Regions from separate parts of the Homo sapiens genome. Here regions 1, 2 and 4 are each linked to region 3. Evidence: promoter capture Hi-C in 16 types of primary human blood cells and fetal thymus (Javierre and others, 2016). All regions are on one chromosome and are shown on one strand. The core of a region is centred on a gene start or on the middle of the fragment in contact, and the rest is flanking DNA. Distances in the headings are between cores, read along the strand shown.

Region 1 (2,703 bases), core at 108-2,607, 160 kb before region 3:
AGTATACAGGAGTAATCACATCTAACTGCATAGCACTAAAAAACAACCTGATATTTTAAAAGTGTGGGCATTGTGGGTAATGATAAGAGAGGAAAAAAAAATAAGAAAATTTAAAAGTGAGGGCACAAAGGCAATCTACAGATTAAGAGAAAAATCTGCAAACCATATATCTGATAAGCAGTTAATTTCCAAAATACATAGGGTACTCCTACAACTCCAAAGGAAGAAAACATTTTTTAATGGGCAAAGCAGGATTTTAAGGCTGCAGTGAACCACTCCAGCCTGGGCATCAGAGTAAGACTCTGTCTCAAAAAAAAAAAAAAAGGGTCCTAACTAAACAGACACCTGTCAGGTATATAAAAAGGTGCTCAACATTACTAATCATCAGGGAAATGCAAATCAAAACCACAATGAGATATCACCTCACACCTGTCAAAATGGCTCTTGTCAAAAAGACAAGAGACAACAAATATTGGGGAGATGTAGAAAAAAGGGAATCCTGGTACATGTCAGTAGAAATGCAAAATGGTGCAGCCACTATGGAAAACAGTATGAACGTTCCTCAAAAAATTAAAAATAGAACTACCATATGATCCAGCAATCCCAACTTCTGGGTATTTATCCAAAGGAATTGAAATTAGGATTTCGACGGACATCTGCACTTCCATGTTCGCAGTAGCATTATTAATAGCTAAGACATGGAAACAATCTAAATGTCCAAAAAGAGATGAATGTAGAAAACGTGGTGTACATGTGTGCATGCCCAGTGGAATACTATTAAGCCTAAGAAGGAAATCCTGCCATTTACAACAACACAGATGCACCTAGAGGATGTTACACTAAATAATATGTCAGTCCCAGAAAGACAAATACTGAATGATCTCACTTATCTGCTAGTTTAGTGGAATCTAAACTAGCAAATTCACAGAAGCAGAGAGTAGAAGGGTGATTGCCAGGGTCTTGTGGGGGGACAATCAAGTTTCACTTATGCCAGATAAGTTCTGGAGATCTATATAGCATAGTGCCTACATCTAAGAATACTGTATTGCATACTTAAAATTTTCTAAGAGGGTAGATTTTATATCAAGTGTTCTTACCACAAAAATAATACTAATAATACATTCATAATAAAAGGGACAGGGAAACTTTAGGAATGACGGACATGTCTATGGTGTTGATGCGGTGGTGTTTTCACAAATATATACTTATCTCCAAACTCACAGAGTTATATACACTAAGTACCACCTTTTACATGTCAAAAAAAAAAAAGGCTTTTCATACCGAAAAAAAGAAAAAGAAAATAATTCCAATAATCGGCAGAATGCATATTTTCCCCCATCCTATGCATATACTACTTGGGAAAAAGACAAAACTTTAAGAAAAGCTCATAGCGCTATGACTTTTTAAAGCAAATAAAATGTCTCTGGACACAGTGAATGAAATAATCTAAAAACAGGGAAAAGGGGGAAAAATAGGCATCAAGTGTAGTTAGTTAAGAACATGGCACAGGCTGGGCGCGGTGGCTCACGCCTGTAATCCCAGCACTTTGGGAGGCCGAGGCGGGCTGATGACGAGGTCAGGAGATCGACACCATCCTGGCTAACACCGTGAAACCCCGTCTCTAATAAAAATACAAAAAAATTAGCCGGGCGTGGTGGCGGGCGCCTGTAGTCCCAGCTACTCGGGAGGCTGAGGCAGGAGAATGGCGTGAACCCCGGGGGGCGGAGCCTGCAGTGAGCCGAGATCGCGCCACTGCACTCCAGCCTGGGCTACAGCGAGACTCCGTCTCAAAAAAAAACAAACAAACAAACATGGCACAAAAGCAGAAAAAGGAGAAACTCCTCAATTACAAACAGGAATATTATGTTACAAACAGGAATACATTTCTTTCTACAAAAATAAGGGTCTGCGAAAGCAACAACACGGGCAACCCCATTTTGCACCAAATGAGACTTTACAGACACTGGCAAATGCTTATTACAGACCCCACAGACATAGAGGGTGTCTTTAAGTACTCCAGAAAGGGTGAACCAGGAGTGCTAAATTCCTACAAAACTGGAGAAGAGCTAACCAGAAATATACAACCTGCTTCATAAATATATAGTCCATAAACTTAATAAATTCAGAATTATAATTTATCCTCTTCTAAAGGTCCAATCACTATGTAAGAGTAGTTACGTCTCTAAAAAAACCTTTCAGAGAAAGCAATTAGATGACTACATCATCTCCTAGAGCCGAACATAAATCTTCTTAAGACTGAAAAACAAATATTTCAAAGTAAATCTTTAGTACCCTGTTATTTATGGTGCTTTAAAACATTTTAAAAGGATCTTTGAAACAAAGTTTCATTAGTACCCTTCTACAAAGAGCTCTCATATCTTTCATTCTTTTAGCAATTTAAAAGCTACCAAATGTTCATTTCCTCATTAGATTATTGATTCCTAGCCTTTTAACATCTCTATAACAGCTGCTTGACAAATTACCTCACCTTATTCCTCGGGGGGTGAGGACAGCATGATATCCATGAATTCAAAAATGGGACCACAAACTGATGAGTGAAGATGAGCTAATTGCTTCAGATGAGTTAGACACTGCTCTAACAGACTAGGCATTCACATAGCATGATACGATTAAATGCTTACACCCTAAATATTTTCTTTGTCCTTAAATGTACAGAAAAGATCTTTTCTTAAATTGAGTTTT
Region 2 (2,700 bases), core at 32-2,531, 230 kb before region 3:
AAGTCCACAGTTTACATTAAGGTTCACGCTTGATGATATACATTCTATGGGTTTGGACAAACATATCATGATGTGGATCCACTCTTACAGTATAACACAGACTATTTTCACTGCCCTAAAAAATCTTTTATACTCTGCCTACAAATCCCCCTCAGTCTACTAATTTTTAAAAATATAAGAAAAAAGGTAGTATAAAATTGGAAACAAAAATAATAGTAGAAAATCTATGAAAACAGAAGTTGCCTCTTTGGGGGAGAAAGGACCAATAAAATTGATAATCCTCTAGCCGGAGTAATCAAGAAAAAAAAAAAGAGAAAACACAGGTTATCACCATCGGAAATGAAAAGAATACTACCGCAGACTATTTAGGCATTAAGGAGATAACAGAATAGTAGGAAAAAATGTATGTAAATTTCTTGACTTAGGTGAAATGAACAAATTCCTTTAAAGATAAACTACCAAACTAACAAAACTGACCTAAGAATAAATAGAAAACTTGAACAGCCCTGTATCAACTGAAGAAATTTAACTTGTAATCAAAAACCTTTCCATAAACAAAACTCCAGGCCCAGGTATTTTCACTGGTGAATTCTCTCAAACACTTAAGAAATGAATAACATCAAACTTACACAAACACTTTCAGAAAATAGAGAAAGAGGGAATGCCATCTCATCTTTTTTTTTTTAAGAGACAGGGTCTCACTATGTTGCCCAGGCTGCTCTTGCACTCCTAGACTCAAGAGATCCTGCTGCCTCAGCCTCTCAAAGTGTTGAGATTACAGGCATGCACCATCACACCCAGTGTATATCTCATCTAATACACATCAAAATTACCTGATTCCAAAACCAGATGCAGATATTTTAAGAGTAATTACAGATCAAAATCTCATTAATACAGATAATAAAACTTTTTATATTAGCAAGTGGAATCCAATAATTTTTTAAGAAAGACAATATATTATGAGCAAGTGAGGTTTATTCTAAGAATGCAAAGTTAGTTTACTATCTAAAATTCAGGCCAGGCGCAGTGGCTCACACTTGTAATCCCAGCACTTCGGGAGGCCGAGGCAGGTGGATCACCTGAGGTCAGGCGTTCAAGACAAGCCTGACCAACATGGTGAAACCCTGTCTCTACTAAAAACACAAAAATTAGCCAGGCACGGTGGCAGACACCTGTAATGCCAGGTACTCGGGAGGCTGAGGCAAGAGAATCACTTGAACCCAGGAGGTGGAGGTTGCAGTGAGCCGAGATCACGCCATTGCACTCCAGCATGGGCGACAGAGCGAGACTCCATCTCCAAAAAAAAAAAAAAATCTAAAATTCAATCAAAATAATGCTCTACCTTAATAGAATACAGGAGAAAAGCCATATGATCAATTCAAAAGAGACAGAAAAAAAAATATGTTACAAAGTTCAGTACTCTATCCCAGTAAAATAAACTCTCACAGCAAACTAGGAATATAGTGGAAATCCCTCAATGTAATAAAGGGCACCTATGAAAAACTTAGTTAAAATCACATTCAATGGTTAAAGTCTCAATGTTTTACAGCCAATGAAGGAAACAGGCAGTGATTTCCATTATCACCATTACTATTTAACTGAATTCTAGCCAAAGAAATAAGAAAAAGAAATAAAAGACATAGATTGGAAAGGAAGAAGTAGAAGTACCTTTATTTGCAGATAAGGTATATGTATAAAACCGTAAGGAAACCACAAAATAGCTAATAGAACTAACAAATGAATTTAGCAAGGTTGTGGATACAAAGTCTATAAACTCAGTTGTATTTTTATAAACCAGCAGTAAGCAATTAGAAAATAAATTTTCTTTCAAAACTCCATTCACATTAAATGAACAATAAAGTATTTAGGGATGCATTAAACAAAAGATGCCTAAGATCCTTATGCTAAAACCATAAGACACAGGAAAAGGAAATTAAAGAATACCTAAATAAATGAACAGAATTACCATGTTCATAGACTGAAAGACGAATAAGGATGCAATTCTTCCCAAATAGATCGAAGGATTAATTGCAATCCCAAATAAATCCCAACAGTCTTTTCTAAAGAAACTGACAAGAGGCTTTAGAAATGTAAATGGAAAGATAATAGATGACTACAACAATTCTGAAAAAGAACAAATTTGGAGGACTTATACTAAAATGAACATTAATCAAGACAGTGGTATAAGGATAGACCTGTAGATCAATGGAATCAACTAACAAATCTAGAAATAGACACACATTTATATGGTCAATTTTTGTCAAAGACGTGCCAAGAAATTTAACAAAGTAAACTCTTCAATATATGGTTCTGGAACAAATGAGTATCTGTATAAAAAAATAGGCTGGGCATGGTGGCTCATGCCTGTAATACCAGCACTTTGGGAGGCCGAAGCAGGAGAATCACCTGAGGTCAGAAGTTCGAGACCAGCCTGGCCAACATGGTGAAACATACCTCTACTAATAATACAAAAATTCGCCAGGCATGGTAGCACACACCTGTAATCCCAGCTACTCAGGAGGCTGAGGCACAAGAATCACTTGAACCTGGGAGGTGGAGGCTACAGTGAGCTGAGATCGCGCGACTGCACTCCAGCCTGGGCAACAGAGTGACACTCCGTCTCAAAGAAAAAAAAAGAATACCTGTATTAAAAAAATAAACTTCAGTCCATACCTTAAACTATCTACAAAAATTAACTTA
Region 3 (2,769 bases), core at 108-2,607:
TGCATCAAGCGCTAGGCTCTGTGCTCACTCACCCCAGTCCTCAGAAGCTGTAGAGCAGAGGGACTTAACCAGGAGTGTGTGGCAGAACCACCTGAGGAGTATTTCAAAGTACACGTGCCTGGGCCCCCATCACGTTTCTTTTGTGCCCCGGGGGATTCTGATGCACATTTCTGAATGACCCCAACCAATGCAGCTGGCCCAGGTCAGTAAATCAGCATCAGACAGAAGAAAATTCTTAAGAGTACTGCCCGCTGTCAGCTCCGGGACTCTCAGAGTGGAAAGAGTTAAGAGGTCTTTGGAGCCACAAAGACCTCAGCTTGAATCCCAGCTCTTCTGATTGCTAGTGTCACGGCCTTGGGCGTACTGCTTAACCTCACTGAACTTCAGTTTCCTTATCTGTAGAATTAAGATGGCGAACAGGGTAGCCTGGGGAGTAAGTGTGCCCACACCCCACAACAATGTTAGTTCCGCCCTCATCTGGAGGCCTGAGTGGCTATGGATTAGCTCGGGGTGGATTCTGCTTTACAAGTACTCCCCCTTGTTTTGCATGAACAAAGAGGGCGCCCTGGGTTTAGGTCTGGGAAGCCCCAGCGCAGCTGCCTGCTGGGTGTGGAGCGGTGCACGCCTTCACGTCTGGTCAATGTCCACTGAGTGCTGTTGAGAGGGAGGCTCTGGAGTCCCGCCCGCCCCGGCGCGGCTGAGCCCTGGGTACCTGCATTAAGTCCGCCCGGTTCAGGGCGCTGGCCGCCACCTTCAGGAGGACTTCACCCTCCCCCGGGCTCGGCTTGGCCACCTCCTTCACGTAGAGGTTTTCCGGTCCTCCCGGCTTGTCAAAGTGCACGGCTAACATATTGTCTGAGGACACAGGGCAGGGCAGGGCAGGACAGGACAGGGCAGGGCAGGGCAGGACAGGACAGGGCAGGGCAGGACAGGACAGGGCAGGGGCCGCTGTATCCTCGCGGAGCAGCCCAGCCTCAGGCTGGCACCGCAGCGCCCCCTGCCGGCCAGCGCCTCGCTGCCCTGGTCTGCCGCGGACCCGGCCTCCGCCCCGAGCTCCTGCCTGGGAAGTCCTCGGCCGCCTCCAGACCGATCCCACCCGGAACACAGATGGGAACGGCGGGAAGTGGGATGGCGGTACAGGGCTGGATGCGGCAGAGCAGGACAACGCCGAAGAGGATCAGGCAAATCACACTCCCTCTGAGTTGGAAGCCCCCAGCCCGACCCGGGTCCCCGGCGCCCGTATGAGTTACTTACTCCTGGCCCGGCTCCCCTCCCATGCACCAGGCGGCGCCGAGTGGTTCTGGCTCCTGCGGGTCCCGGTGACAAAGCCCGAGCCCCAGAGCCCCAGGACTGCCTCTGCCTCCACCGGAATGGACGGCTGGACCTGGGGTAGCCGGAGGGGTGGGGCTAAGCAGAACCACCCTCCCCCTCTTTCCTTTCCTCCTTCCCCCTTTAAAACGCAAAGTTAGAAGCAAGCAAATCAGATTTTCTTGTCCTTTTAGCCTCTGGAAAAGAGTCTTTCTCTCAGCTTGACAGAAAGTGCGATTCTAGCTCTCACTTCAAGGAGAGGAAACTTCCTTCTCTCTAGGGAACGAGACCCAACCTCTTGGCGGGCGGATTGGTCCATTTTCCAGGCATGGCCAGGCTTTTGGCACATTTATGTAACAGGCTGGCATCCCGCCCATCTTGAGCATGGGTGGGCAAGCTGGGTGCTGCTAAGAGAAGAGAAAGGAGCCGTTGGGAGTGGGGGTGGGGAAGGAAGGCAAAACGCAGTCCTGGGATCCTTATCACTCGCCTCCTCCTGACAGTCCTGGGGGAGAGGTTCAGCCCCAGGAGAAGGATGCTGGCGATTGGGTAAAAGCTGTATCCGTAAGCTACATGAAGGTTTCTCAATCTCGGCGCTATTGACATTTTGGACTAGCTAGTTCGTTATTGTAGGAGATCGTCCTGTGCATCGTAGGATGTTTAGCAGCATCCCTGGCCTCCCCCCACTACATATCCGTAGCACTCCTTGTAAATTCCTGTTTTAGTAAGAACCTCCCATCCTTGACATCTGATCACCCTCAATATCTCATCCTCCACCATCCCCCAAGTGATATCCGACCACCCTGGCCTGTCTTCAGTGAGAATCCTGTTAGGTCAGTTTAGATAGAATCCCCCTTACCCCTGATGCCTCTTACCAATTTTCCATCCACTGACCCCCTACACTGCTCCTTGGCTATACATTCCCACTTGTCCGTGATGCATTCAGAGTTGATCCCAACCTGTCTCCTCCACTGCAAGAACTCATTGCAGTGGTCCCTAAACCTGTAGCGATGGTGCTAAATAAAGTCTTCCTTAATGTGCTTTAACAAGTATCATTGAATAATTATTTCTTTAACACAACAGAGCAAAAGCCTATAGAGATGGAAATAATAAAATGATGGGACTTAAGGAAAAATTCAGGAGACCCTGCTATGAGAATAACAGGAATTTTAGGCCGGGCGCGGTGGCTCACGCCTGTAATCCCAGAACTTTGGGAGGCCAAGGCGGGCGGATCACGAGGTCAGGAGATCGAGACCATCCTGGCTAACACGGTGAAACCCCGTCTCTACTAAAAATACAAAAAATTAGCCGGGCGTGGTGGCGGGCGCCTGTAGTCCCAGCTATTCGGGAGGCTGAGGCAGGAGAATGGCGTGAACCCGGGAGGGGGAGCTTGCAGTGAGCCGAGATCGCACCACTGCACTCCAGCCTGGACGACAGAGTGAGACTCCGTCTCAAAAAAAAAAA
Region 4 (2,700 bases), core at 47-2,546, 210 kb before region 3:
AGGGAGTCAGTAACCAACTTTTTTTTTTTTTTTTTTTGAGACAGTGTCTCACTCTGTCACCCAGGCTGGAGTGCGGTGGCAAGGTCAGGGCTCACTACAGCCTCAACCTCCAGGGCTCAAGCGATCCTCCTGCCTCAAACCCCCAAGTAACTGAGACTGGAGGCACCCGCCACCACACTGGCTAGTTTTTGTACTTTTTGTAAAGAGGGAGTTTCACCATGTTTCCCAAGGTGGTCTCAAACTCCTGAGCTCAAGTGATCTACCCACCTTGGCCTCCCAAAGTGCTGGAGTTACAGATATAAGCCACCGCACAGGGCCAGCAACCAATTTAAATTACATCCAAATTTAGCGAATATCGGTCACTGTTTGATAAATAACATTAGAATCTCAGAAAAAAAAAAGTTTGGTTTTTTTTTTTAATTTTATCTTTCCCAAATAGTCACAGTCCAGACATTTAAAGAACAAAGGAAAAATAATACACTGGTTTACAGAGGACAAGGGCTTTAACTCACTTAAGATATTTCCATCCTGTTTGAACTTCTTATAAAATACATAAAATATTTTGAAGAAAAAAATAGTTTATAACCAGAACTACTATGGAGAGATTAGGTAATTTGCCAGGCTGAAGTCATCACGAAGGAAAAATAATACTTAATGAATGCCAGATTATTAGTATAACTCATGACATCGCTAAGACACCTAAAAAATACTATAATAAAACCACCACAAAATTGTGTGCTCACGAAGTGTTCAAATTGAGTTCATCATATCCAAATCAAATGCTTCAACCACTTCTTTTAAACTGTATATTCAGTTAGCAGTTCCACTAACTAGTAATTTGCAAAAAAAAAAAAACCTCAAAAATCATCCTAAATCCCTTTTTGCCCACCACATAATCACTGCCATTGAGCTCTAGCCACATTCCCTGTAAATATCCCTTATATCGTCTTCTTCTCCACCCCTACCTAGGTTTCGCTTACCACCTGCCTAGCCATTTAACCACCCTCAGCTCTGCTTTACTAAAAAAAAAACATTTGCCATGATCTTACCTCGGATCTTGTTACCGCGTGAACTGCTCTCCACCTCTGCAATTTTAAAATTCAATGGCCTACTTTTTGAACATAACCTCCTAACATACCAACTTTCAACTCATCAAGGCCTACTATACCCGAGCACCCACTGACTCAGAGTCAACTCCCTTCGTGGCTTAATTTTCTGTCAAGCCTCACAGGAAAAGCTATTACTTCAGTTTTTAATCTTTCTACCTGACTCTGTCTCCTTTTTCTTCCATTACACTTGCTGAATTCCAACCCTGTACCAATCCAAGTAATAAAAGTAGAACACTGAACACACTAATGAAAATCCACACAACCATACAAGCTGCAATCATTGTCAGTAATTTACTTCAAGCACAAATAGCCTTCAAAGATGTCCCAAAATCTGTGCATCAGTACTCCACTCCAATGCCCACATGTCCCATTAGCAACCCAGATTTTCTCAACTTCTCCTTAAGATCCTTAACCCACCTCCTACTCCTTCTCTACTAATCGGAATCCTTTCATTAACTTCTGCATCCATTTTTGTGAGGGAAGAAGGAATTGTTTTTGGGTTTGTTTTTCTTTTTTTTTGAGACAGAATCTCGCACGGTCACCCCGGCTAGAGTGCAATGGCGCAATCTCGACTCACTGCAACCACTGTCTCCTGGGTTCACGCGATTCTCCTGCCTCAAGTTCCCAAGTAGCTGGGATTACAGGTGCACACCAACACGCCCAGCTAATTTTTGTATTTTTAGTAGAGACAGGGTTTCACTATGTTGGCCAGACTGGTCTTGAACTCCTGACCTCATGATTCGCCCATCTCGGCCTCCCAAACTGCTGGGATTACAGGCATGAGCCACCATGCCCAGCCTGTTTCTGTTTTTATTTTTGTTTTTAGATAGAAGGTCTCACTCTGTCAACCCAGGCTGGAGTGAAGTGACACGATCATAGCTAAGAGCAGGAAGCCACAGCTTCCACGGCTTTACGCACAGTCTCTTCATCCCCCAGGAACTGCATGCACCTGATGGTCTTCAAGTTCTTGTCAAATTCATAGACAATGGGAATACTAGTCGGCAGGTTCAGCTCCATGACAGCCTCTTCAGAGAGACCATCCAAATGTTTCACAATGCCCCAGAGGCTGTTGCCATGCACTGCAATCAGCACCCATTTCCCCTCTTTTACCAGGTGAGCTATTTCTTCATTCCAAAACGGCAGAGCTCTGGCTTTGAGAGTCCTTCAGACTCTCACAGGAGGGTAGCTGATCCTCCGTGAGGTCTGCATGCCTGCGATCCTTACTAATGTTGCTGTAGAAAGGATGGTCAGGCTCCATCGGAGGTGGTGGAACATCATAGGAGAGCCTCCAGATCTTCACCTGGGCCTCACCATGCTTTGCAGCAGTTTCTGCTTTACTGAGATCAGTCAGACCCCCATAGTGCTGCTCACTGAGGCACCAAGTCCTCACTACAGGCAACCACATCTGATCAATGGCATCTAGCACTGTCCAGAGGGTCCAGATTGCTCTCTTCTGCACTGAGGTGAAGCAGATGTCAAACTCATAGCCAGCCATCTCACAGTGCCTGCCTGCCTGCCACTCTTCATCTCCTTATGGCCCGCCGGGCTCACATTGGCATTGTACCAGTCGCTGAAGCAGTTCTCCAGGTTC

The links. Contacts are between HindIII fragments. The CHiCAGO score rates a contact against its expected background, and 5 or more counts as called.
Region 1: a contact is called between a fragment that was not itself captured here and the fragment with the promoter of TP53I3 in region 3, in 13 of 17 cell types (total CD8 T cells, naive CD4 T cells, naive CD8 T cells and 10 more). The highest score is 12.5, in total CD8 T cells.
Region 2: a fragment that was not itself captured here is called in contact with the fragment with the promoter of TP53I3 in region 3 in 8 of 17 cell types (naive B cells, total B cells, non-activated CD4 T cells and 5 more); the score reaches 8.5 in naive B cells.
Region 4: a fragment that was not itself captured here is called in contact with the fragment with the promoter of TP53I3 in region 3 in 6 of 17 cell types (naive B cells, naive CD8 T cells, total B cells and 3 more); the score reaches 8.3 in naive B cells.

Annotation. Positions count from the first base shown.
Region 1 is chr2:23,922,393-23,925,095 of GRCh38, forward strand. The region is part of intron 1 of ATAD2B (ATPase family AAA domain containing 2B); the gene reads right to left. Among named protein-coding and RNA genes, the nearest start is that of ATAD2B, 3.4 kb to the right of the region's middle. The HindIII fragment of the contact is 2,762 bases long and covers 1-2,703 here.
Region 2 is chr2:23,851,622-23,854,321 of GRCh38, forward strand. The region is part of intron 13 of ATAD2B (ATPase family AAA domain containing 2B); the gene reads right to left. Among named protein-coding and RNA genes, the nearest start is that of ATAD2B, 74 kb to the right of the region's middle. The HindIII fragment of the contact is 4,900 bases long and covers 1-2,700 here.
Region 3 is chr2:24,083,477-24,086,245 of GRCh38, forward strand. TP53I3 (tumor protein p53 inducible protein 3) reads right to left here and starts at 1,358. Exons shown (of 5, transcript NM_004881.5): 1 at 713-1,358. The coding sequence starts at 850. It also overlaps a transcript of FAM228B not described here. RefSeq lists enhancers at 596-695, 846-895, 1,643-2,143 and a silencer at 906-1,085. The HindIII fragment of the contact is 14,995 bases long and covers 1-2,769 here.
Region 4 is chr2:23,870,268-23,872,967 of GRCh38, forward strand. All of the region lies in intron 8 of ATAD2B (ATPase family AAA domain containing 2B), which reads right to left. It also overlaps the pseudogene PGAM1P6. Among named protein-coding and RNA genes, the nearest start is that of ATAD2B, 56 kb to the right of the region's middle. The HindIII fragment of the contact is 5,735 bases long and covers 1-2,700 here.